2 separate regions of the Homo sapiens genome follow, and region 2 is linked to region 1. The links are contacts of gene promoters, found by promoter capture Hi-C in blood cells and fetal thymus (Javierre and others, 2016). All regions are on one chromosome and are shown on one strand. The core of a region is centred on a gene start or on the middle of the fragment in contact, and the rest is flanking DNA. Distances in the headings are between cores, read along the strand shown.

Evidence for each region. The method cuts DNA at HindIII sites, captures the fragments that hold promoters and counts their contacts. A CHiCAGO score of 5 or more calls a contact.
Region 2: a fragment that was not itself captured here is called in contact with the fragment with the promoter of PRMT2 in region 1 in 7 of 17 cell types (naive CD4 T cells, total CD8 T cells, naive CD8 T cells and 4 more); the score reaches 15.8 in naive CD4 T cells.

Annotation. Positions count from the first base shown.
Region 1 is chr21:46,629,694-46,637,291 of GRCh38, reverse strand. It overlaps PRMT2 (protein arginine methyltransferase 2), which reads right to left and starts at 1,618. Exons shown (of 12, transcript NM_206962.4): 1 at 1,529-1,618; 2 at 745-853; 3 at 302-396. The coding sequence starts at 340. RefSeq lists silencers at 1,200-1,749, 1,860-2,079 and an enhancer at 1,850-2,520. The HindIII fragment of the contact is 1,501 bases long and covers 936-2,436 here.
Region 2 is chr21:46,527,610-46,535,207 of GRCh38, reverse strand. It overlaps DIP2A (disco interacting protein 2 homolog A), which reads right to left. Exons shown (of 38, transcript NM_015151.4): 9 at 6,025-6,116; 10 at 2,971-3,081; 11 at 1,561-1,684; 12 at 1,095-1,204; 13 at 521-623. Among named protein-coding and RNA genes, the nearest start is that of DIP2A-IT1, 69 kb to the right of the region's middle. The HindIII fragment of the contact is 8,719 bases long and covers 1-7,598 here.

The DNA of each region.
Region 1 (7,598 bases), core at 369-2,868:
TGAACAGCTCAGAAAATATGCTTGCTTTGCCAGTTCACGTACCAAAAATGGAACCCTAAATGATGCTGATGTTTTGGGGCTAAGTATTTCCTTAGAATTGTTATGGTGCCCAATGCAGGATGTCACCTTACAGGCACTGCGTTTCCTCTGCCTCACAATCTTCACATTTAAGCATTCTACTGCCGGTGGCCACCTTCCAAGGCACAAGCCAAGCTCCATCACATCTGTGAGCTGACGCTTAGCTCTCTGTAATGCTCACATTCATTAAACACAGATTTTTAGGAAGTGGAACGGAAATTACCTGCGATTCACTTCTGGGACAGTCACCTGATGTTGCCATAGTTCTCTTAGGCTCTGCCTCATAACTGCTGATTTATTTCATTTTCTTTTCCATTTCTACTTTTAAAAAGAGAAGGAGACACAAAGTACTTGTTACATTGCTTAATAATTGAGTTCACTTAACTTCTAATGTGCATGATGTCCTCTACCAAATAGAAGTAAAATGTGTATGTGTGAAGATTAGTGTAGAAATGAAAATTTACAATACTTTACAGAGACAAAAGCATTTAAAAATCATAAACTTCAAATAGTGTGTTTTCTTCACTAGTCTGCAAGGTGTTAATCTTGTTCATTTGCTGAAGCCTGTTAGTTTCTGTTAGATCAGGTGTCGACTTAAGGCAATAAATCAGTATTCATTAATTTCTTAGAAGTGTGATAGCTTTAATTCCAATTAAAAGTCCCTACCTGGGACCTTACAGTGTTTCCACTAACAGGAACCAAGGTCTGCATCTTCCAGTCTTTTCCTTCTTCTCAATTCGTATTTTTCCAGTGATAGTGTAATCCACACACTGCTCTGGGATCAATGTGTTTTTAAAATTGCATAGCAATTCTTTGTTTAAAATGCATGCTTCACTTCTAAATCCAGACTTGAAGCTTATTTTTGTGATATTCGTAGTTACAAATGCTTACTGATTTGCATAATTATATTTTCATTGGAAGACCTGGGTCCAAACTGGGACGGGGTCGGAGTGGAGGCCGCAGTGCGCGCAGGACCCTGCCCTCCTAAGATGCCCTCGGGAGGAACAGGATCATGGAGGGTTGGAACAGGTGGCCAGTGAAGGGGGGTGAGAAGGGGGCAGGAAGCGAGAGGGCCACGCGTGGACGCAGGGGCACGAGAGGGTCAGGCTGGGACAGCGCCGCGAGCTTCGGGGCAGGGGCCGCCAGGCAGGTGGGCGTGGCCGCGAAGGGCGTGACAGAGATGGTGGTGGGGTGGGCGTGGCCGTAGAAGGCGCTGGACGGCGGGAGTGGCCGGGAAGGGGTGCGGCACGCAGGGAAGGGTGTGACGGGGACCGAGCTCCCGTTTGGACGCCAGGGAAAGTGGCTGAGATCGCGAAGGCGCTCGGAGGTCCCAAAAGGGGGCGGAGGCCTCTGTCCGCCAGCGACGCACACGCAGTGCGAGGACGCCTCACCTGGCCTGTCCTTCCTTACGTGCAGTCCAGCCATCTGAGCTGCCCATCAGGACACCTACCTCAATCGCGTTTCTCCGCTGAGTTCCGCGTCCACACCGCCAGCGCGGAGGGGTGGACGGTCCTTTCCAGGAGCCTGAGCCACCGCCCTCAACCCGCGCAAGCGCAGTGCACGCAGGCCGTCAGCCGGGAAGGCCCCGCCCAGGGCCCGGCGCCCCGCGCAGGCGCAGTCCTAAGACGTCCCCCATTCCAGGGAAGCCAAGCCACCGCCCTCGACTTGCGCCGGCGCGTCGCTCACAGATCGTCTGCAGCTGGGGCTGCGCCCCGCGCAGGCGCACTTCACATCTGCGCGTCCCGCGGTCTTGCGAGGCGAGGCCAGGTTCTCCATGTGTGGAGCTCGTCCCCAATCGCCCAGCCCAGCCGCGGGGTTGGGGGGCTCGGCTTGGGGTCCGACCCAGAGGGGCGCGGGGCAGGAGTCCGACCTGGGGCGGGGGGCGGGTTTGGGCCATTCACGGCTTGGGAAGCGACAACCCCTACGAGCCACAAAATGGCTGGGGCTTGGGGGACCCCCCACCTCCTCTGTCTTCCCGCAAATAATTCAGTTAACTTTCCCATCCGCGCTGCGCAGTGTGCGCCCTCTGCCTTTCTTCTGGATAAGTGGAAGCAGAATGATGACGTTTCTGTTGTGGGGAGAGGAAGTTTGGGGTTAAGGAGAAATGGGTGGCGCTAATGCCTGTAAAACATAAAATTCGAAGCCCCCCCTCCCCCGCAGCCGTCTGACTGGACTCCCTCCTTTACCAGGGGACCCTGAAGTTCAACCTGAGAGACTATTCTGGCCTCGAAGGGAAGTAAGAGTTGGACATGCCTTTTTACACTCCTCCAGCATTAACATCAAGGCAGACCTTAAGTCTGATTTAAAAAAAAAAATGTGGAAGGAAAATAAATTTGGGGGCCGCAAAATCATTAAGCTTAAAAGGAAAAGTCAAGTTGGGAACTGCTTAGGGCAAACCTGCCTCCCATTCTGTTCAAAGTCATCTCTCAGCTCACTGAGATAAATGCGTATCTGATTGCCACCTCTGGAGAGGCTAACCAGAAACTCAAGGGAATGCAATGATTTGTCTCATATTTACCTATGACCTGGAAGCTCCCTCCTGCCTTTGCTTTGAGTTGTCCCGCCCTTCCGGACCAAACCAATGTTCATCTTACATATATTGATTGATGTCTCATGTCTCCCTAAAACGTATAAAACCAAACTGTGCTCTGACCACCTTGGGCACATGTCATCAGGGCCTCCGACGGCCGTGTCATGGGCGTGCATCCTTAAATTCAGCAAAATAAACTTCCTAAGTTGACTGAGATCTGACTCAGATATTCAAGGTTCACATTTTGGTAACCACAAAGGGATTCTGAGTAGAGGTGCCACTGACCTTTGACAAATCTGTCAGTCCTTAGTACCAGCTTGAGCTATCTTTATGGCTCAAACCAATAGGACAATTTGCTGAGGCCTGGAAGCACCCCCTCCAGAGAATCCCTGATCTACCCAGATTTAGTCAAGATCTAGTTTATTTTGCTGTACAACTCCTTTTGTGTGTTGGGCGGGGGTTGGGGGGCGGGGTGTGCTTTACTCTCTTCCAACATAAGGAAGTAGTAGTTTTTTCCTGCTTCCATGACAATGGAAGGCAGGTAACTCGTTTATGGAGTTTGAGCTCGCTTCCCACAGGAAAGATGAGGGGTTTTCTTCCTCTGCTTCTAGGGTGGTAGAGAGCAATCTTCAGCCTCAGACCCATCCCTAGGAAGTAACTGAATTGGGGTTTGTCTTGGCTATTAAGATTAACAACCAGCTGGTCTTAATTTCTCCTTACCATTAGTGTGCTCAGTAACCTTATAAATTGCCCAATCCTTCGTTTCGCTTAACTGGTTTTTTTGTTGTTGTTTCTGTTTTTTGTTCTTTTGTCTTTTTCGCATTGAGTTTGACGAACTCTATCTGACTTGATCGAAACCAAAGGAAAGTTCCAAATTATGAGAAGTGAGGCCTCTGAAGTGGCTAAGTTTCAACCCCTCCCCACCACACACACACACACAAAAGGTGATGTGGTGGGGGGAGAAAAACAGCTAGCAAAAGGAAAAAGAAAAAAAAAATTTATTTTGACTACTTAAAGGGCTTTTCTTACATAACAAGGCCACATTTTTGCTAGCCAGACCAACCAAAAAGAGTAATGTCTGTCACCCCACACTGCAGTTCCATACCTAAGGGTTCTGCCTTCTTTTTTTCCACCACCACAGCCTGGGTTTAGTTCCTAAATTAAGCCCTTTCTGGTTTGATACTTGGTACTTCTGAAATAGCAGCAATTAGTCCTAGCTGAAATATGATAATGAGATTTATTTATTTATTTAGACAGAGTCTGGCTCTGTGTTCCAGGCTGGGGTGCAGTGGCACAATCTCAGCTCACTGCAACCTCCACCTCCCAGGTTCAAGTGATTCCCATGCCTTAGCCTCCTGAGTAGCTGGCATTATAGGCCTGCACCACCACACCCAGCTCATTTTTGTATTTTTTTGGTAGAGATGGGGTTTCACCATGTTGGCCAGGCTGGTCTCAAACTGGCCTCAAGTGATCCGCCTACCTCGGCCTCCCAAAGTGTTGGGATTACAGGCATGAGCCACCATGCCCAGCCAGTAATGAGATTGAAAAAGTTTATTTTTAAGGAGCTCAATGGTTAAAAGCTTAATTAAAAGCTAACATCCAACATATGTGTGTTGTGTGCCTGTGTGTGTGTGTTTGTATTTAAAAGGCTTCCAGTTTTGTTTTTTTTGTTTTTTTCTCTCCTAGGACCTTGTCTTTTTGAGCAAAAGTTTTTTTCTTCTTAGTTGACTGGCTTCTGTTTTCTTCATTTACTTTTGTCGTGTCTTCTTTCTCTTGCACCCTCTGCTTCATGGGAAACCTAATATAGTTTGTAATACCCAGGGTTCCTTACAGAAAACGGAGAAGGTGCCAGATTCCCCTTGGAGGAGAAACCTCTGTTTCCTTATGGAACCCCAAATGTGTAAACAGACAAGTTCATCTCAGCTTTTTTTTTTTTTCATCTCAGCTCTTAAACTGCTTGCTTTTGTATTGTGTTACCTAATTTTTTTACTAAAATAGTTACTGCAACAGAGGCTACTCTGGAGTTCTTAAGGAATAGTATAGTTTAGACATGTAGAAATGTCTTTGTTGAAAAAAGTTTTTTAAGTGCACTGTAAAAGCATGATGTAGTCTAACCTCATAATAATTTTCGCTTTTTGGAGACCCAGGATTCAGTGTAGGGTCTGCCCAGAGCTCAGAGATCCAGTTAAAATATAGGGAGTCTCTGTCTAAATAAAACTGGTCTCCTTATACAATCCTATGATAGATTTTCATAATTTTATGTTTGATTTCACATCCATTTTTAATCTCTCTTTAGCACCACCAGACTTTTTCCTCTCTGTACCTTAAAATGTAAATTTTGCTATCTAATTTTTCATCTAATAGTTTCCTTTAATATGCAGATTTAGGGCTATTTAGCCGGCAACTGCCAGGGCAATGACACAGATGATCAAGAGTTTGCAAGTCTAAGATAGAAAAAAAAAAAGAGGTCTTAGGAATCTATAAGATGTACTTCTATCGGTATACCTAATACATCTATGTATTTATGTGTTGCGTACACAATGTTTCTCTATTAAAAAATATAGAAGAGCTATAATTAATTGGCTTAAAGAAAAATAAAAGTGCTCAAATAAATTATTTATTTATTAATTAAAGAAAAATAAAAGTGCTCAAATAAAATACTTTATTAGAAAAAGGGAAAGACTAGTCAAATGTTAAGTTTACTTAAAATCTTTAATAAATAAGTTAGCTTTAAAAATAGTGGCAAAGTAATTTAGAAATGTCTTAAGAATTGCCAGCATACATTTTTGTTTGCATTTATTTATCAAGCAATTTCCTACTTATCCCTGCCAATTACTATAAGGTGTCAACATTTGGCATAGGGGTTACAAAACTATAAACCCAGCCCCAAATGGAAGAACATAAATGGCCTGATGGAGCTGAAAAACACAGCACGAGAACTTCATGAAGCATACACAAATATCAATAGCCAAATCAATCAGGTAAAAGAAAGGATATCAGAGACTGAAGATCAACTTAATGAAATAAAGTGTGAAGATAAGATTAGAGAAAAAATAATGAAGAGAAATGAACCCTTCTCAAAAGAAGACATTAATGCGGCCAATAAACGTGAAAAAAAACTCTTCATCACTGGTCATTACAGAAATGCAAATCAAAACCACAATGAGATATCATCTCACACCAGTTAGAAAGGTGATCATTAGAAAGTCAGGAAACAACAGATGCTGGAGAGGATGTGGAGAAATAGGAACGCTTTTACGCTGTTAGTGGGAGTGTAAATTAGTTCAACCATTGTGGAAGACAGTGTGGCGATTCCTCAATGATCTAGAACCAGAAATACCATTTGACCCAGCAATCCCATCACTGGGTATATGCCCAAAGGAATATAAATCATTCTACTATGAAGACACATGCACACACGTATGTTTATTGCAGCACTGTTCACAATAGCAAAGACTTGGAACCAACACAAATGCCCATCAGTGATGGACTGGATAAAGAAAATGTGGCACATATACACCATGGAATACTATGCAGCCATAAAAAGGATGAGTTCATGTCCTTTGCAGGGACATGGATGAAACTGGAAACCATCATTCTCAGCAACTAACACAAGAACAGAAAACCAAACACCACATGTTCTCACTCATAAGTGGGAGCTGAACAATTAGAACATGTGGACACAGGGAGGGGAACATCTCACACCAGGACCTGTCAGCGGGTGGGGGGCTAGGGGAGGGATAGTACTAGGAGAAATACCTAATGTAGATGATGGGTTGATGGGTGCAGCAAACCACCATGGCACGTGTATATGTAACAAACCTGCACATTCTGCACATGTATCCCAGAACTTACAGTATAATGATAAAAAAAAAAGAGAAAAATCTGCTGATGTATAATTCTAAGCCTAAGAAGAATAGCCATTACAAAGGAAGTCAAAATAAATTCATTTTCAGATAAACAGAATCTGACTGAAGCAAACATGCACTAAAATGCTAAAAGAAGAACTTCAGGCTAAAATAAGATAATCTCATAACTGCAGGAAGGACAGAAGAGTACTAGAAAGTGTAAATAAATGGATAAATGTATTTTTAACATTTGTCCTTAAATCAACAATAATTGTGACTTGTGAGGTTTATAATGTGTAGAGGTGGAATATATGCCAACAGCCGCACACAGAGCAAGGGGGATAAATAAACAATTGTAACGTGCTGGATCTTTGTTAGGACAAAGCAAAAGTATCCTAATAACTTCAGGCAGGTCAAGAGTGCATAATGAGATCTCAAAAAATACAATGATGTATGACAACAAGCAAAATAGAAGATAAAAGAAAAATAATAAATTTTAAAAATGGAAAAGAAAACAGTAAGAGAGTACTACAGAAATAAAAAACAGACAAGACAAATGAAAAATAAACAGCAGTGCAGCAAACCACCATGGCACGTGTGTACCTATGTAACAAACCTTCACGTTCTAGGCATGTATCCCAGAACTTAAAGTATAATAAAAAATAAAATAAAAATAAACAGCAAGGTGGCAGAATTAAACCCAACTATATTTGTAACAACATTAAATGTAAAGATAGAAAACATGCCTTTTTTTTTTTTTTTTGAGACAGAGTCTAGCCCTGTCACCCAGGCTAAAGTACAGTAGCACAATCTCAGATCACTGCAACCTCTGCTTCCTGGGTTTAAACGATTCTCATGCCTCAGCCTCCCGAGTAGCTGGAATTAAAGCCGTGTGCCACCCTTCCCAGCTAATTTTTTTTTCTGTATATTTAGTAGAGATGAGGTTTCACCATGTTGGTCTGCCTGATCTCGAACTCCTGACCTCAAGTGATCCACCCACCTCAGCCTCCCAAAGTGCTGGGATTACAGGTGTGAGCCACCGTGCCCGGCCAATGCCAATATTTTTAAGTATCTCTTTTAGAGATTTGACTAAATGGTAGTTATAAGAAACATACTTTACTATAAAGAAACATTTAGTTGAA
Region 2 (7,598 bases), core at 2,672-5,171, 100 kb after region 1:
ATACTTTATCAACAGATCATCTATAACCATAAAGATTCTACTTATATATTTATATCCATGACAGCTGAGGTCAAAACTACAGTCATAGATAAAGTAATAGAAAACTAAAAGTGTTTTCCTCTTTTTGAATGAAAAATGCCCTGACCCTCAGTATGTCACAGAGTAAGCCAGCCCCCCAGGGCAGGCCTGTGAACCCAGCACTGTGTATAAATCAATCAGTGGGATATAGGTTCCATGTTCCATAAAATCAACATCCATGTGCATTTACTGAAAACAACCCTGATGGGGTTGTCTGGACTCTGCTAAGAGACACCGTGTGCCCTCTTGGCCAGCACAACCACAGAGACCCTGTAAGCATGCTAAAGACAGTGCATCTCCCTACCTGGCATGACCCGGATTAATGGGCAAAGGCACTACCCAGGGGTGGTTTTGACAGGTGCAGTGACAGTCACATGATTAGGTACGTCAGGTATCTGTGTGAGGCTGGAGGGGCCACCGCCCCACCCCCGAGAGCCCTTACCTTCTGAGTACCCGCACGCCTGGGTCAGAGCCCGGCACTGTGCCAGCAGGGATGCGTGGGACACTGTGACCCCCACCGTACTGCCTTCTTTGCTGGTTTTATACTGAAAGATTTCAAGGAAAAAAACATGATGTGGTATTTCTAGAGGTGACAACAGACAGAATGGAAACTGGTAGAATCTTCAAAAGAAGAAGTGGTCAGTGTCTCTCCTCTAACCATCGGCCTCTAACCAGCAGCCCAGGTACATGGCAAAACCCTGGCCGCTGAGGGGATGCTTCAGTGGAAGTTGTGGCTCCTCTTGGGCAGGTGCCCGAGGGTAATGGTGCGCCATGGGCTCCCTCATAACTGTCTGCATCCCCAGGGAGCCAGTTAGGAGAGAATTAGATGAGAGAGAAACCTGGAAGGATCTGAGCAAGGATTTATATGACACTCTGTATTTCCAGGGCAGAGATAAAACAAGAACTCTTAGGCCGAAACTTAACAAAAAAGAATAGCAACTTACATTCTTATGAAAAGCAAGACTTAAGCCTGTGGGACATGTTTTTACATTCTCTAAGTTAGGAACAGTCATTACCTCAATGTAGGCAGTCCCAGTCCCTGTGTCCTGGGCCAGAGGGTGCCAGTCCTTTGGGGGCTTGGCTAGATGCTTCCCATCAATCACTAGCCAGGAGAGCGGGGGCCAACCTGTGACACACAGACAGGACACAGAACAGCAAGCAGTCAGAGGCATCTGCTCCCCACACTCGAAGCCTGCGCCTCCAACATGCAGCACTAGCTACTGAGCGAATAAGGAGTGCAAGTTTTAGTCTCATTTCATTTTATATAATTTAAAAAGGTACATCCGGCCAGTGGCTACCACATTAGACAGTACAGGTCGAGACATGAAGCCAGATGAAAACCGAGATTCACCAAGGACTCGAACAAGGGATCACTTTTGCTGAAGACCCAGACACCTCTGTCATGTTTAATTTCTGGAACACCATGCATTTAACACAGACCACAGTCAGAACACTGACTCCCCTTCCCTTGGGAGGCCTCACCTTTGAAAGCTGCCACCTCTCCTGTCTGTGCCTTGGGGAGGCCTTTCTGACAAGCGTCTGTGGTCAGGGCCAAGAAGACTCCACAGCTGCCCAGCAGAAACCCAACCTGCTGGCTGCCTGCATCCTGCAGAAAGCAGAGTGACCGTGTGGGGTGGGGTGCTCACAGCAGCCACAGCCCCAGACCCTTGGTGCTCCAGGCCATGCACAGAGAACAGATCTTTTTTTCATCCCTCATAAAACTTCCAGAATAATTCAGTCCCATTATTGATATATATGATCTTTTCACGGAAATAGTTCATGAAAATGTGACAACTATGTTTAAATTTAAAAGATAATTTTGGTTTGTATTTGTGTTGAAATATAAAGTTTAATGGGCTAATTTCTCAAAGTTTATTCTTACAAATGACATTTAGAAGCATTTTTAATAAACTCCAAAGTTAATGGCATTGAAATTTCTATTGAATCATGTTTGAAATTTACAAATTAATCTAGAGAGGCCTGGTCACCAACGATATTAAATTATTTCCACACAGAAACACATTTCCTTGTAGCCAAGTCTTCTGTGTCCCTCAGCAGTATTCTGTCATTTTCTTCATATAAATTTGACAAATCTCTAGTTTTACTCCTAAGAACCACTGCATTCAAATACCTGCCCATCACATATTATGCTTTGAGATACACTAGTTTGATTTGCAAATTTTACTTTTGGGATTCTTGAATATTTCTGGATAATGCTCCTGTTAACAACTGCCTGAATTCTGGGACAGGATGACAGAAAACTGATTTTCTCAAATTCATGCCTTGTCTATTTTTTTTCAGTAATCATATTATTGATAGTTATATCAAAAATGTTACAGATACCTAGATCAGCAAGACCCCACATTAATAATTTATCAGCAACAGAAACTGCCTACGGTCATATAAGTGAACAGAAATGCAAGATAATTTCCATCTCGTTTATTCAAAACTGCCACTGAGAAGTGAGCTATATCACTGTAATGATATATTTATCCCTAAGAAATAATAATTATTTTCTATAAACATATGGTTTTGAGGAAAAGTTGAACAAAATCTTATTGAATCATAATTCTATTCATTAGAGGAAAAAATGGCTATCATTTCTGTTGGGAAATTCATGTAGATGATAGAACAGCTCCACCTAATAAGAGTGTGGTGTGGGAGCATCACCAGCAAAACGGTTCTCAGTGCCCCTCTCATTAACAAGAAGAGAGGCAGGCAAAACGGCATCTGATTTCTCTTGAGTCCTGGCCAGCCTGTTGACTACTAGCTTTCTCTCCTCTGTCAAAACAGCTGCTTGCTGCCTGCCCACATGAGTGAAAAGGAAGTAAGATACTGCTGGTATCAAGTTCAGAAGCGAACCACACGGGACCTGAGCCATGGGTTTGCTACCTTTCTTGTTAATGGCACTTCTATGGGGACAGGAACCAGCTCTGCCAGGAGACACCCATAAAATGCAACCATGAACATCACAGGGTCACTATTCGGAAACACGAGCGCCACCTACAACAGGACAAAGAAATGAATATTCCAAATTTCCAATTTTTACAATATCTAGTTAAATTAAAAGCTAGTTATAAATAAAATTTTTGTAAGCCCCAAATATTGTAATAATTGTGCTTGAAACCATAAGGGACAAGTCCAAATAGTATTTAACTGAGTAGAGACAGTTGACTCAGGGCCTTTGAGAACACGCAACAATGAATAACCAATAAGTGCTGACTTTGTAAGACAAAATTTAAGCTGTATCTATATTCTGTACTTGAGGTCTGGAAATTTAGTTTCTAACAAGTTTGTTTGTTGAAAAGGGCAAGGTTCTCCTTCAAAATTTGGTTTTAACAGTGGTTGCCCAGAATGTAACCTATAACCTTCAGACTAGATGTTTGGTATGGAAAGTATATTTTTACAGAATTTGTTAGGAAGAGCTGTGCTCACTTTTATAAAGTGTAATATTATAGGAGGCAGAATTTGCCACCAATTTCTTCAACTCAATCACTGTGACCTTGTCCATTTTATTATGATTCACCTAACCAAAGAGATTCTCTTGCAAGTCAAGAATCTGAAAGTCTTTATCCTTGTAAGAATGTTTTTCAAGAAAATTAGTGATTCTTGAATTCATTCTAAAGCGTTGCATAAAATCTCATCTATGAGCACAACATATCATAAAGTATTATTCTTAAACTGTTTACATTTTTATAGCCAAGTACACATTTCCTTTCTTTTCTGATAACAGCTACCTCCATTTCTACTTGCGTTGCTTTCTGTGTATTCTCTAGCTAATTTGTTTTAAAATACTCCCTCAGCTGGGTCAAATACCCACCTACTGGTGGGTCATTTTCCAAATAACCACCCACTCAGGAGAGCCGTGAGTGTCCCCTGCTGCTGAGGACTCCACTGCTGAGGGTCTCGGTTCTCCTGATGGTGGGTGCTGAGGATTCCACCCCACCCTGGAGTCTTGGTTCTCCTGATGGTGGCTCTGCTGCCCCCCCTGGACTGCTGCCAGTGATCGTCCTGGGGCCTCCACTGTGGTCCTCCTGCTTGCACCCTACTCACTCACTCACTCATGTGGCTGAGGGACATCTTCTAAGAACTTGACAAGAAAGTGCTTGCGAGCCAAACGTTTCTGAGTCCTGCATGTCTGAAAATGGCTATACTATTCTCAAATCTGTTGAATCTCTGGGAACAGAATTTTAAGTTAAAATTATATTCCCTCTGAATGTCTGAAGCATCATTCCACTCTCTTTCAGTTTTACCAATGAGAAATCCCAAAAGCCACTGTCATTGCCAATCCTTTGTGTACATCCTACTTTTCCCCTGAAAGCTCTGGGATTCTTTTCTGTACCCCTCGTATTATGCAATATTATGGGCATGCGTTTTGGTGTGCATCCTTGAATGTTTACACTCTCCAGGTCCGGGATATTGTCCTGAATTACTATTTTCATTTAAAATGTTCTACTTTCTGTTCTCCTTTCTCTTTCTCGACTCCAGTTATCAGTCAGGTGTTGTGTCTTCTTGATCGAGTCTTTTTGTCCTATTTTACTCCGCTCTCCATCTCTTAGTCTTTCCTACCGGCATCCTTTTCTTGACTTATGAAACATCTTCATCTCTGATTTCCAAGAATATTAATACTCACTTTTTAGAAACATTGTTTTCTGTATCTAGCTTTCCTTGTTGTTTCCTCTTTCCTCCCTTCCTTACTTTTCTTGTCTCTTTCTCACTCCCTCTCTTCCCTTCCCTTTTCTTTGTCTTTTGGTATTTTCTCTCATATTGACATTTCCTTCTTAAAAGTCCTTGGCTAATAGTTCATATTAAAGACTTAGGCACTGAAAGAGCTACTTGGAACTGTCTGCCAGCTTGTTAACCTGCAGTTTCCTTGTTGGGTGATCTGACACAGGTGACCTTCTCACTAGGGGATTTCACTGGTATGTTGATTTTCACCATGTTCTCCTATTTTCCACCCTGGACTTTCTAGTATACCAGGGTCCTCCGGTCTGGTCCAGCTTGCCTACAGTAGTACTGTCCAACAGAAGTTTCTATGATGACAGAAATGTTCTACCTCTGATCTATAAATACAGTAGCTACTAGCCACACTCCTACTGAGCCCTTGAAATGTGGCTTGTGCAACCAAGAAACTAAATTTTTTATTTTATTTAATTTTGGTTAATTTAAATAGCCCCAAATGGCTACTGCCAACCATATAGGGCAGTGTAGCACAAGAGAATAAGTCTCCAGCATCCTATTTTGGCAGATAGGTACAAGGAGGTTACCTGGACACATAGAATAGGGAAGGAGATAAAAATACAGAATTTCACAGCAGGGTTTCAGACCTTCAGATTTTAATTCATAAAATCTAAGCTCTGGAATCTAACATTTTTAATATCAACATATATGAAGTCAAACAGAAAAGAAGATGAAGAAACAGTGGACAAACAATGAAACAACGAGTGCAGAAAAAGAATGCTGCTTTACTCTACATCACAAACTTTGCCATATTTAATATTTTTCACTGCTTTTTTTTTTTTTTCTCTTTGAGACGGAGTCTCACTCTGTCGCCAGGCTGGAGTGCAGTGGCGAGATCTTGGCTCACTACAACCTCCACCTCCTGGGTTCAAGAGATTCTCATGCCTCAGCCTCCCGGGTAGCTGGCATTACAGGCACGCACCACCACGCCCAGCTAATTTTTTGTATTTTTAGTAGAGACAGGGTTTTGCCATGTTGCCCAGGCTGGTCTCAAACTCCTGAGCTCAGGCAATCCGCTCACCACAGCCTCCCAAAGTGCTAGGATTACAGGCATGAGCCACCGCACCCAGTCCTCACTGCTGATTTTAAATCCCTTGTATTAATGCTGTAATTCTAACTAAATGATAGAACACTAATTTCAATGAAACAGATTATTTAAGTCCCTGCTTTTGCTCCTTCCAACAAAGTGACATTCTAGTTACTTACTCTGTCTCCAGGTTTAAGTAGAGGTTCATTCTTACTTGTCAGTTTATTAAGTAGAGTATAAGCTAGTTTTAAACTCCGACTCCAAAGTTTACCTAAAACAAAATAAAAATACTAAGCAATGTAAAATTTAAGAAACAAGTAATTAACATTTTAATGTAGAAACCAAAATACCCCGAAATATACCATTACCCCATTAGTGGAAATTTAGGTAGTTTCCAACTAATAACTATTCTGCACAATGTTGTAATGAACATCATTGTTTTCTCTTAAAAATAGCTTACAGATTTATTTTTCTTAATACAAAAATAAAATAGGATTTTATTACAGAAAATCTGGACTACAGAAGAGCCAGCAGAGGCAGGTTGCAGTGACTCACACCTGTAATCCCTGTACTTTGGAAGGACGAGGCAGGCAGATCACTTGAGGCCAGGAGTTTGAGACCAGCCTGGCCAACATGGCAAAACCCCATCTCTGCTAAAAATACAAAAAATTAGCTCAGTGTGGTGGTGTGTGCCTGTAATCCCAGCTGCTCGGGAGGCTGAAGCATGAGAATTGCTTGAACCTGGAAGGTGGAGGTTGCAGTGAGAGCCAGCCTGGGCAATAAAGACATTATCTAAAAAAAAAAAAAAAAAAAAAAAAAAAAAAAAAAAAAAAAAGCAAGCAGAAAAAGTCAGTATTTGGTATACATATGTATATGTACATATGTGTGCATATATATACAGCTATACACATATAAACACGTATACATGCCTGTAAAATTTTCAAGAAATGAGATACTTCACCCTACTTTTTAAATTAATATTGCATTGTAAATGGATTTTCATTACGTTAAATATCCCTCAATTACATCATTTGTAAGAGTAGCACATAATTTCTTTAATCTTTACAACAATTCATGAAATGGGTCATATCTTTGTTTTAACATGTTAAATTCCTAATTTAATATGTTAAATTTAAGATGTTAAAATACCAGCCATCCCCAAAGAGAAGTTCCCCTGACCAAAAATCAAGAGACAATATAAACCAAAGCAACAGATCCAAAGGTGATCCGGGTATCAATGCCATCCATTCTTTACTTGGAAAGCCATCAGGACCTCACGCCAGGCACAGGGCCCAGGAACCAGCTCTTATCCCCTGAGGTCCTTCCCACCACACACCCCTCCTGGCGCAGCTGCTATGCTCATAAGCACTCAATAGGGGAGAGCTTCACTGAGGAAGACAGGACAATAGAGAAAGGAAAAGCCTAGAGGACTGGGGGTGTCTAGAGAGGACGACAGAGGCAGGGGTGACCATGGGACAGGAAGACTGAGAAATCTGAGTCTAACCCCCCACACTTGAAGGAGCCTTAACACCCCCTCACCAAGCAGCCTATCAAAGAAGCAACACAAAGTCATCACTGAGCCCTTTAAGTCCCTGTGGCACAACGCAAGCAGGTTGAGTAGCCATGCCCTGCAAATGAGCGCTCAATTTCCCGTGTAATAATATGAAGCTCAGGTGCAACACTATGAAATAAGTGAACTGTGGGACCTGAGAAATGAATGAGAAAAAAAAAATACTAGACTGGGCACGGTGAC